3 separate regions of the Homo sapiens genome follow, and regions 1 and 2 are each linked to region 3. The links are contacts of gene promoters, found by promoter capture Hi-C in blood cells and fetal thymus (Javierre and others, 2016). All regions are on one chromosome and are shown on one strand. The core of a region is centred on a gene start or on the middle of the fragment in contact, and the rest is flanking DNA. Distances in the headings are between cores, read along the strand shown. Region 1 overlaps SLC25A12 (solute carrier family 25 member 12). Region 2 overlaps LOC105373740 (a long non-coding RNA gene). Region 3 holds the start of METAP1D (methionyl aminopeptidase type 1D, mitochondrial).

Evidence for each region. The method cuts DNA at HindIII sites, captures the fragments that hold promoters and counts their contacts. A CHiCAGO score of 5 or more calls a contact.
Region 1: a contact is called between a fragment that was not itself captured here and the fragment with the promoter of METAP1D in region 3, in 2 of 17 cell types (neutrophils and monocytes). The highest score is 5.3, in neutrophils.
Region 2: a fragment that was not itself captured here is called in contact with the fragment with the promoter of METAP1D in region 3 in 2 of 17 cell types (monocytes and neutrophils); the score reaches 6.6 in monocytes.

The regions. Positions count from the first base shown.
Region 1 is chr2:171,880,106-171,883,618 of GRCh38, reverse strand. The region is part of intron 2 of SLC25A12 (solute carrier family 25 member 12); the gene reads left to right. Among named protein-coding and RNA genes, the nearest start is that of SLC25A12, 12 kb to the left of the region's middle. The HindIII fragment of the contact is 3,527 bases long and covers 382-3,513 here.
Region 2 is chr2:171,916,302-171,920,303 of GRCh38, reverse strand. LOC105373740 (a long non-coding RNA gene) reads left to right here. Exons shown (of 3, transcript XR_923579.2): 3 at 3,261-3,355. LOC105373739 (a long non-coding RNA gene) reads left to right here and starts at 3,503. Exons shown (of 3, transcript XR_923578.1): 1 at 3,503-3,536. The HindIII fragment of the contact is 7,608 bases long and covers 1-4,002 here.
Region 3 is chr2:171,998,121-172,002,192 of GRCh38, reverse strand. METAP1D (methionyl aminopeptidase type 1D, mitochondrial) reads right to left here and starts at 2,240. Exons shown (of 10, transcript NM_199227.3): 1 at 2,184-2,240. The coding sequence starts at 2,223. It overlaps LOC124905590 (a long non-coding RNA gene), which reads left to right and starts at 2,284. Exons shown (of 3, transcript XR_007087296.1): 1 at 2,284-2,514. RefSeq lists a silencer at 2,246-2,545. The HindIII fragment of the contact is 8,153 bases long and covers 1-4,072 here.

The sequences.
Region 1 (3,513 bases), core at 896-3,395, 120 kb after region 3:
AGAAAGGCCAGTGTGCCTGAAGCATTGGTAATTAAGTATGGGGGTAAATGGCCTCCCAAAGTACTGGGATTACAGGCGTGAGCCACTACGCCTGGCCGATTCTTTCAATTTAATGTCCTCCTGTCTATAGAGTTCCTAGAACATCTTGAGCTGGATGAAACTCCTTTTCATCCAGAGGGCAGCAGAGTGTACCTGGAGCCTACATGGGATTTGTAGTCTAACCTGGGTTTGAATCCTCATTTGAAACCTTTTGAGCTCAGGTGTTTACTTTTGGAGCCTGTTTTCTCATCTGTCTAAGAAGGGATAATGACACCTAGCACATAGGGATGTTCTAAAGATTAAATAAAATAACATGTAAACTATGCAGAACCAAATAAAGCTTAGTTCCTTGTCTCTTTCCTTCTCTTCTAAGTTGAGATTAGGATGTTTTGTTTGTTTCTTGAATAAGATCTGAGTCCCTTGTCTTCTCCAGATGACTATGCTGGACCTAGTCAAGAGACTAAGATGTTAATATGTATTTATGATTATGTACATATAATCAGTTAATTACTTACATTCTTGAGACATCCATCTGAAGTTATTGACAAATACCGATTTCTCTCAAGTCTATGAGGTTCTAAGATGTTGTATAGTCACAGTCTAAGGCTGGGAGACCCGAGAGACCATGGAAGATGTTTGCAGAGTTTTCTTCTGAAACTTCATTCGCTCAGTCTGGACGTGTAAAAGAATAACGGTCCAGCCATAGGCTCTGAAATCCCAAGACACAGACTTGAAAAAATACATATTTTTTTTTTGTGCGTAACTTTCTTTTTTAAAATCACCACCTCCCTGTTCTGTGCAGATTTCTCTTACTTAGTACTGTGGAAATTTCTGAAAGCATCTTCCACTGAAACCATTGCTATGGCCAGCGTTGGGTTTCTAGAACTGGAAGAAACACACATTTTGAAAATATTAGTCAGTACTATTTCAGTCTTCAGTGACAGGAATTTTGGTTAAACATGCGTAGGCTTAGAATGTACTGGCTCTAGCCATGAGTGGATCAGGAGCTTAACTGCTGTCACCAGGGATCATGCACCTTTCATCTCTTAGTTTTGGTTTCTGTTGTGCTAGCTTCATTCTCAAACAGGCTTTGCCATGTGGAGCATCCCCAGATTAAAATCCTACCCATTCAGCAGAGAAAAGGTACTGTTTCTCCAATTTCTAGGTTAAGTCTAGGAATTATTGTCCTCCCTAATACCCCAAGAAAACCCATGTACTAGAAGGAGGCAGTGTTCTCATTGGCCAGATCTGGTTCACATGCTCACCTCTGGAACTGTTCAGTTGAGTCAGCCCCATTTGAATGACCTGTGTAAATTGAGGGTGAGGGAGGTGTGTATGTTCAAGAAAAATTAGCATGCAGTTACCAGAAGGGGGGAAGGAAAGCTAGGCACATTAAAACCAAGAACTGTTTATGTATAGCATATAAGGGATTGGAAAACCTGGAAGCCTAGGGGTGACTCAGGGAGGCTGGGAGACAGAGATGGCAAGAGATTCTGTGCCTCCAAGTCAACACTGCTGTATTTGGTAGCTTTCTAGAACATTCCAGTGCAGCTGTCATACTATCTGCAAAAATACCTTAAGTGAAATGACAAAAAATAACCAAAATTAGGACCCCTGAAGAAGAAATGTATCCTCACCTCATTTTTTCTTCAGAAAAATTTTTTCTCTCAGTCTTCTTTCTAGTCTTTTTCTTATGGTGGTCTTCCTCTCCCCATCTTCTTTTCTGTCCTTACCCTACCCCTCCCATCCCATGGCTCATTATTTTCAGCAGATCTGTTCAACACAGATTGCTATTGATTGTCCTACAAAGAGCCAGGTACTGTGCAAGGTGCTAGAGGTATGAGGATGAATAAGGTATCCCTGTTTTTAAAGGACTCATAGCCTAGAGCTGCTTAAATTACACATCCCTACATTAATACTTTTTTAAAAAAATAGAACATTCTGTATAAAGCTGAAGGCTTGAAGTCCTTCCTGAGCTCTACCCCAAAAGCCAATACTTCTGAAGGCTTGAAGTCCTTCCTGAGCTCTACCCCAAAAGCCAATAATTCCCTGCCACCTAAGAGGTAACCACTGTTCTTGGTCGTGTTTCTTTCTGATCTTTCCCCATACATTTACACAGAAAATATGGGGTTTTGGCCGGGCGCGATGGCCTGTAATCCTAGCACTTTGGGAGGCCGAGGCGGCTGGATCACCTGAGGTTAGGAGTTCAAGACCAGCCTGGCCCACATGGTGAAACCCCATCTCTACTAAAATACAAAAATTAGCCAGGCATGATGGCGGATGCCTGTAATCTCAACTGCTCGGGAGGCTGAGATGGGAGAATCGCTTGAACCTGGGAGATGGTGGTTGCAGTGAGCTGAGATCACACCACTCCACTCCAGCCTGGGTGGCTGAGTGAGACTCCGTCTCAACAACAACAACAACAACAACAAAAAAAGAAAATATGGGGTTTTGTGGTTTTAAAAAACATAAATAATAATAGCTAATGCTTACTGTGTCACTGTTATGTATCAGGCACTATTTTAAGTATTTTATATAAATCATCATATTTAATCCTCAGAACAACTCTATAAGGTAGGAACGATTAGTATTCCCATTTTACAGATGAGGAAACTAAGCCCCAGAAAGGTTAAGTAGCTTGTTCAAGGATATACAGTAAACGGAGGAGCTTTGCTTTATATATTTTAATACAATTCGCCTTTTTTACTTAATATTATTTGGAGATACAGGTATGTTAGTGTGTAAAGAATTGTTTCATTATTTTTCTGTAGCCCTTTAAATAACTTTGTTATGAAAAATTTCAAACATATACAAATCTAGAGAAAATAGAATAATGATGGATACCATGGATGACTAGAGGGAGAAAGGAAGGAGGGGAACAGGGTGGAAAAACTATTGGGAACTATGCAAACTCTCTGGCTGATGGGATCATTTGTACCCCAAACCTCAGCATCACACAGTATTCCCTTGTAACAAACCCACACATGTACCCTCTTAATCTAAAATATGAATTGAGGCTCATGCCTGTAATCCCAGCACTTTCGAAGGCTGAGGTGGGTGGCTCACTTGAGGTCAGGAGTTCGAGGCCAGCCTGGCCAACATGGTAAAACCCCGCCTCTACTAAAAATACAAAAATTAGCGTGGTGGTGCATGCCTGTAATCCCAGCTACTAGGGAGACTGAGGCAGGAGAATCACTTGAACCTGGGAGGTGGAGGTTGCAGTGAGCCAAGGTCACGCCACTGCACTCCAGCCTGGGTGACAGAGGGAGACTCCATCTCAAAAAAATAAAATATGATTTGAAATTATTTTTTAAAAAGTTTGTTGTAATTCTAACTGAATTAATAAACTTTAAAATTCATACAAAAAAAGAGAAAATGGTATAATGAATCACCATATATCTGTCATTCCAGTGTCACCAATTATCATGGCTAACCTTGCTTCATCTGTATTACAGCCACAGTGGCTTATTTTGA
Region 2 (4,002 bases), core at 859-3,358, 82 kb after region 3:
GGCTAGGCACGGTGGCTCACACCTGTAATCCCAGCACTTGGGAGGCCAAGGCAGGCAGATCACCTGAGGTCAGGAGTTTGAGACCAGCCTGGCCAACATGGTAAAACCCTGTCTCTACTAAAAAGTACAATAAATTAACCAGGCGTGGTGACATGAGCCTGTAATCTCAACTACTTGGGAGGCTGAGGCAGTAGAATCGCTTGAACCCAGGAGGCGGAGGTTGCAGTGAGCTGAGATAGTGCCACTGCACTCCAGCCTGCTCAAGAGAGCGAGACTCCATCTCAAAAAAAAAAAAAAACTTTTCTTTTCAAAATGGCAAGACTTATCATTTCTTTCCAAAATCACCTTATCTATGGATCAATTGCTGACCAGCAATTATGATCTTTATAAGTAAGAAATCAAGAAGAATTACGTTTTAACTGTGGTATATCACAGATTATTAGTCCTGTGATATTATGGTTAGTTGTAGGAAAAAAATATGATGAAACTTACTGATATATTGTATGACTAGCATTTAATGTGATTTGCTTGCAGAATTGAGGTTTTATATTGTCCTCGTCTTAGATGTTCACTTTTTTTTTTTTTTTTTTTTTTGAGACAGGGTCTCACTCTCACCCAGGCTGGATTGCAATGATGCAATCATAGCTCACTACAGCCTCCAGCCTCCAACTGCTGGGCTCAAAAGATCCTCCTGCCTCTCAGCCTCCCAAATAGCCAGGACTACAAATGTGTGCCATTGTGCACAGCTAATTTTTTTGTTTTTTGTAGAAATGGAGTCTCAGTATGTTGCCCAGGCTGGTCCCAAACTCCTGGCCTCAAGCAATCCTCTCAGCTTGGCCTCCCGGAATGCTAGGATAATAGGTGTGAGCCACCATGTCCATCCTCACATTTTTTTTTTTTAATGTTACAGAATAGATGTTTTGGTACAGTTTACCTAAAAGATAAAAGAATGACTTATTTTGGAAAGGTAATGTGAAAATTACCCAAAAGGAAAAAAATTCTCTTTTTTTTTGTAGGGATTTCTTTCCTTTTTTAACTTATATTTTACTTTGTTCTAAAGAGAATTTAAGAAAGCAACTATTACAATCATGGAATAAAATTTCTATGAAAGGAATATGCTATCCTCATATATATATGGAAGAGACAACATATCTTGTGGGAAGTTTACTGCCCTACTAGTCCCAGTTCTACTACTTCATGCTTGTTCAACCTTGTTGCATCTATTAAGTGGAGATAATAGTACTGCCCAGTCACCACACTGGGTTGCTGTAAAAACTAAACGGAATAATATTTGTGAACGACCTTTGTAAACTCTAAAACTCTATGCAGGTATGAAGTGGTATTACTATGATAACATTTATTCTAGTAAGGGAGATTTGGAAAAGGCATTTTCTTCAGAGAAAAGGGCCATATTACACTATTAGGTATGAACTGGCAACCATGTGTTGGTACAGGCTCAAGTTCATATGGACTGATAAACTTCACTATCTTGCTTTGAAACCTCCAGAATGGATTAAAATTTGGCACAAAAAAATATGGTCATCGGGCCGGGCGCAGTGGCTCATGCCTGTAATCCCAGCACTTTGGGAGGCCGAGGCAGGCAGATCACGAGGTTAGGAGATCGACAGCATCCTGGCTAACACGGTGAAACCCCGTCTCTACTAAAAACACAAAAAATTAGCCAGGCGTGGTGGCGGGCGCCTGTAGTCCCAGCTACTTGGGAGGCTGAGGCAGGAGAATGGCATGCACCCAGGAGGCGGAGCTTGCAGTGAGCCGAGATCATGCCACTGTACTCCAGCCTGGGAGACAGACTCCGTCTCAAAATATATATATATATATATGGTCATCAGAAAATTGATGCAGGAAATCAATTTTAAGAAAAATGCATGTATGTAATGTGTCTTCATTTCAAAATGCATACCTTTACACAGACAAATAACAGTAGTTAGTTAGCTCATTTTTTTAGCTCGTAGTGCTAATGAGCATAAAGTTATGAGTCTCAGTTCCCAGAGCAATTATCCAGAAACCATTATCCAGCTAGATGACTTCCAAATGGGATACAAGAAAGAAAATAGGCTGGGCGCGGTGGCTCACGTCTGTGATCCCAGCACTTTGGGAGGCCGAGGCAGGCAAATCACATGAAGTCAGGAGTTCGAGACCAGCCTGGCCAACATGGTGAAACTCCATCTCTACTGAAAATACAAAAATTAACCGGGTGTGGTGGCATACACCCGTAATTCCAGCTACTCAGGAGGCTGAGGCAGGAGAATTGCTTGAGCCCGGGAGACGGAGGTTGCAGTGAGCCGAGATCCCGCCATTGCACTCCAGCCTGGGCGACAGAGCGAGTCTGTCTCAAGAAAAAAAAAAAAAGGAAAGAAAGAAAATAAAAATGGACCGGCTCATGTTGAAAACTACTGTAAGAGGACCCCTATCCTAAATACACAAAAATTACCAACAGTCTTTATTTTCCAACTCTAATGTACTACCCATACGTGTATAAATTAGTAACTTTTGAGGGGCAATTTAGAAATTTTAACACATTTTTACAAATGTAACAAAATTTTCAATTTGTGTATCCTTTGAGGCAACAACAGTTCCACTTTTAAGCATTTGTACTGCAAAACTATTTCACAGAAATGCAAAGATACACTAAAACAAAGATGTTCAATGCTGTATTATTTTCACTGGCAAGTTGAAAATAGCCTAAACTACTAGCACAAGGGGCTGGCTAATATGTTCTATCTCCTATACAATAGGCTAAAAAATAAATTACAAAAAATATAATGTTATTTCATTTATATAAAAATATATTTTGATATAAACAGAAAACATCTGAAAGCATACCTCACAAACTTAACTATAGTTGCCTTTAGGGGGAATTTAGAGATGGGGATTAATGAGGTTTTTTGTTTTTGTTTTTGTTTTGGAGACAGAGTCTGCCCAGGCTGGAGTGTAGTGGCATGATCTCGGCTCACTGCAATCTCCACCTCCTAGGTTCAAGCAATTCTCCTGCCTTAGCCTCCCGAGTAGCTGGGGCTACAGTGAGCATCCGCCACCACACCCAGCTAATTTTTGTAATTTTAGGGTTTCACCATGTTGGCCAGGCTGTTCTGGAACTCCTGACCTCAAGTGATCTGCCTCCTTGGCCTCCCAAAGTGCTGGGATTATAGGCGTGAGCCACCGCGCCCAGCCTAATGAGTTTTTTTATTCTTTAATACCATTTGTCTCTTTCAATGATGATGTATTGGTTTCTTTCACAGTTAGAAACTTATCCATCTGGCTGCGCGTGGTGGCTCACACCTATAATCCCAGCACTTTGGGAGGCCAAGGTGGGCAGATCGCCTGAGGTCCGGAGTTGGAGACCAGCTTGACCAACATGGAGAAATCCCGTCTCAAAGAAAAATACAGAATTAGCCGGGTGTGGTGGTGCATGCCTGTAATCCCAGCTACTCGGGAGGCTGAGGCAGGAGAATCACTTGAACCCGGGAGGCAGAGGTTGCGGTGAGCCAAGATCACGCCATTGCACTCCAGCCTGGGTAACTAGAGCAAAATTCCGTCTCAAAAAAAAAAAAAAAAGAGAAACTTATCCATCTTTTTGGAGGTTTTTAGACATGGTTGCTAACTCCCTATCCTCTTCTCTACATTCGACGTATTATGGTACACAGACTCTAAGGGAAGCAATTTAATCAAAACTAGGAACAATTAGTTGAAAACTAATATTTTCCATTTTGCATTTTGTCATTATTTACAAGCAAAGATTGGCCAAAATAACAAGCACTATAATTATTTATACCTGTTTTCAAAATGACTGTCCAGTGATGCCTGCTTTACTTTTGGAAACTAATTTATTAGAATGGCATTAATTATGTATTTGTCTACTTTTGGTAGGTAATACAATAATAACTGTGATATTATACATTCTATCATTAAAATGCTATTTTAAGTATTATTATTATTATTTTTTTTTTTTTTGAGACGGAGTCTCACTCTGTCGCCTCTGTC
Region 3 (4,072 bases), core at 991-3,490:
GACTATCTCCTCAGATCCTTCTCACCATTACCTGAAGCATACAAAAATGAAGTCTAAAAGCCATGATTTCTTGTGAAAAGAGGAAACAGAAAAGTAATTAGTAAAGAAAGTTTGGACTGGAACCCAGATCTTTTTTTTTTTTTTTTCAGCTCACTACAACCTCCGCCTCCTGGGTTCAGGCGATCCCTCCCACCTCCACCTCCCAAGTAGCTGGGATTACCAGCATGTGCCACCACACCTGGCTAATTTTTGTATTTTTAGTAGAGACAGGTTTCACCATGTTGGCCAGGCTGGTCTTGAACTCCTGGCCTCAAGTGATCTGCCCGCCTTGGCCTCCCAAAGTGCTGGGTAATATTACAGGCATTAGCCACCTTGCCAGGCCTGGCACCCAGATCTTGAGAGATGTAAATTGGCTGTCTTTTCACAAGGCTACACTCTCATGCTGATGTCCATTCCTTCATGCAACCAGTCCAAAATGCTCGCTACATCACCTTCCCCATACACATCTCTCCCCTCAAATCTTCCTGTGGCCCCTTTCTCATCTCCACTAACACTGAAATACTGAAGTCTATTCGATTACCAACCTTCTTCCTCTCTAAAAATATCTTCCTCTTCACTTCTTATTTTTTATTATTTTTATTTATTTTTTTTTTCTGAGACGGAGTCTCGCTCTGTCGCCCAGGCTAGAGTGTAGTGGTATGATCTCAGCTCACTGCAACCTCCACCTCCTGGGTTAAAGCAATTTTCCTACCTCAGTCTCCCGAGTAGCTGGGATTACAGGCATGCGCCACCACGCCCAGCTAATTGTGTATATTAGTAGAGACGGGGTTTCACCATGTTGGCCAGGCTGGTCTTGAACTTCTGACCTCAAGTGAGCCACCTGCCTCGGCCTCCCAAAGTGCTGGGTTTACAGGTGTGAGCCACCGTGCCCAGGCTCTCTTCACTTTTTGTACACACTCATCCTGCACTGTCTCTGCTGAACTTTACACACTGACTTCTATGGAGTGACCACGTCATGCAGTACCGAGAAATGAGTCTTAAAAAAAAAAATTAGAGTCATGTTCAAATGAGCAATCTGCCTCTTACCATTTATGCGACCTTAGTAATGTTACTTAACCTCTCTAGCCTTACTTTTCCCTTCTGCAAAGAGAAAATAATTCCTAACTCACTGGGTTTTTGTTTTTGTTTTTGAGACAGGGTCTGGCTCTATTGCCAAGTCTGGAGTTCAGTGGTACGATCACGGCTCACTGCAGCCTCTTGACCTCCCAGGCTCAAGCGATCCTACCACCTCAACCCCCAGAATAGCTGAGACTACAGGCATGTGTCACCACGCCCGACTAATTTTTAAAATTTTTTGTAGAGACGGGGTCTCATTCATTGAGTTTTAAAAGGAAGCAAGCATATGTAAGGCGCTTAACACAGTATCGTGTACTTAAAAGGCACTTAATAAACAGTAGCTGTTACTATGAAAATAATATTTACCTCACAAAACTGTTCCTACATGCCTGACGCTTAAGTAGCTCCTCAAAATATGATAGTTTTCCTCTTCCCCCGTCCTTGGAAAAACTTTCTAGTTCTTTCCAACAAAGATTCAGCACCTAGTTCAAATCCAACAAAGATTTCCCCAATTCTGCTGCAAAGGCATTTGTATATTTACTAAAATCTCAACACTCACGCAGGATAAAACCTACTTAGAACTACCCAGACATCCTTTCTTATCTTCTTAACTTTAAGTCACTGGAAGAAAACCATCACATTTTGCAAGTCCCCAAAAAGCATGCCTGCATAAAAGCTCTAGGGAAGGGAACCGGGTGTCCAGATGCATTTCAGAATTACCATAGGTTTCCTTGCTCGGCATACAGAATAAATGTTGGTTACACTAATGATACAACCGAAGTTGGGGAAAAAAACTTCAGACAATGGCCCGCAAATCTCAAGGAGTAATTGCGAAAAGATGCCACGTGGTGACGTGTTCTAGGCGGGTGATCAGTGAACAAATTTGTATGTGTGATCCTGTGGTGTGTGAATGTGTCATCGTGTGTGCCTGCGTGTGTTCGTAAACACTGAAAGTACAGTCGTGTGCGCCGAGAAGTCTGAGCGCGGGTGCGCATCCCTTTGGACCCGGGTGCGTACCTAGTGAGCAACCGTGCGAACCCTCACGGGGCTCTCCTCCACGCGCTTACCTCTGCGGACGAGCAGGTGGACGCCACTGGGCGCCGCCATGTTGGCGTCGGTCACGTGGCCGCGAGCACTCGCTCGCCGCCCCGCCCGCTGGAGCCGGCCAGTCGCAGCCCTGCCGAAGCCCTGAGGCGTCGAGGCCGCCCGAGGGGAGCGCGCGTGCGCGCGCGGGGCTGACTGCGGGAGCCCTGGCTGGGAAGCGGCTAGGGCACCCGGGCAAGCAGCAGAACCCGCGGCCGGCTGAGTCCTCTCCAGCCGCGAGAGGCGGGCTCCAGCCGCGGCTCGCGCGCTCGCTCTGAGCCCCCGCGCCCAGGTGGGATGGAAGAAGCCTGTCAGGTAAGCGTGGCATCCAATATTTATAGCATCAACATTTTGGTGCATGGAAACGTGAAGTTGGGCGGAAAAAATAAAGCACAATCTAGTGTTCAACATAGCACTTTGTATCGTCTGCCACTCTGTTGCAAATTATTCCCCTGGATTCAGTTGAAAGGTAAAATTTGGTTCAAAGTCACCAGCTCCCCTTTTGCTGTCCCAGAATCTACATTACTCAGCAGAGACTCCAGACAACACAGGATCTGTGTGTCGCTGCAAAATCTATTCTAGGTACCCCAGTGGGTATGTTCAGGAGACTTCTCTTTCTCCAAGGACGCCTTCTGCTTGGCAGTATTAACTGGAGTCTTAATCCTAAATTTGGAGTTTAAGTATAAAAGGATGACGCCTGCCAATTGCATTGCCAAGAGAAGAAGCCTACAGAAGGCCAATTGTGAATCAGATGAGGGAGCTGATGTATGCCTACTGATGACGGTGCCCATTTTTACCAAATTCACTGTCTCTCTTACCTGTGTTCTGGGGTAGATGCCATCCTGTCATGGACCAGGTGTTATTCATCTTAGTAGCCTCCGTGCCCGGCACAGAACCCGATACCCGAGGAATGTCAGGTGAAGCAATTGAACACTGCATGAAACCAGTCAAACTGAGAATGTAACCGTTTCCAGACTTTAAATGCAGTGAAGATTGATTAGGATTCTCAGTGAATGTGTGTGATGTCTTCTAATTAATTTTTAAGCACTACACACTCAGTGAATAATCTAGACAATTCAGAACAATTCAGAAATAAGGAACAAGTGCAAGCCCCTTCCTCGCCCTCTGTACATACCATAGTCCCACTCCCCAGTTAACCACCGTGTGCTCAATTGAGATCTTTGCCTTTTACACACAGGCAAATGTAAGTATTTTAAATAGAATCATATGACTTGCTTTTTCCATTCCAGTCATCATAGGCATCAAATCTTAGAACACTTAGTTCAGACTTATTCTTTTTAATGACTATATAATCTTGATATTTTTACTTTTAAAGAGAGTGAATGTTGGCATTTCATTAGAGGACACATGCTATAATTCTGGAAAACCTGGTTTTGGATGCTTTTGGGTCACCTTGAAAGATAAAGAGAAGTAATGCTTTCCATCAGGGTAAATAAGATGCACAAGAATGAGAATAAAATGTACTCCTACCTTTTGCAAACTCATTTCAATTCCAGGGAGAGCATTTTTGAATGTGGCAAATCTGTCCTCTGTGTAACTGAGGCCAGCAATCTGAGTGCAGCAAAGGAGCCTGAGAGTTAGCTGGCCACAGAGTCTTAAGCAGTGTACAGAAAAAAGAAATCTAGACATCCCTATTCCTTAAGGCATCAAGCCTAGTTTCAAACCCATCTGAAATAGAACACATGTTCATGTGACTTAACTCAGCCAACCCTTGGAAAATAAATGAATGCTTTATTCCCCTACAACTAAAAGGAAAAGGAAACACTATGAGGACCCAGGTGGCACCAGCAGTAGTGGAATCCAGTGAGGAAATCCTCAATAAGTTCGGCATGGAATGTAGATATCTGGGATG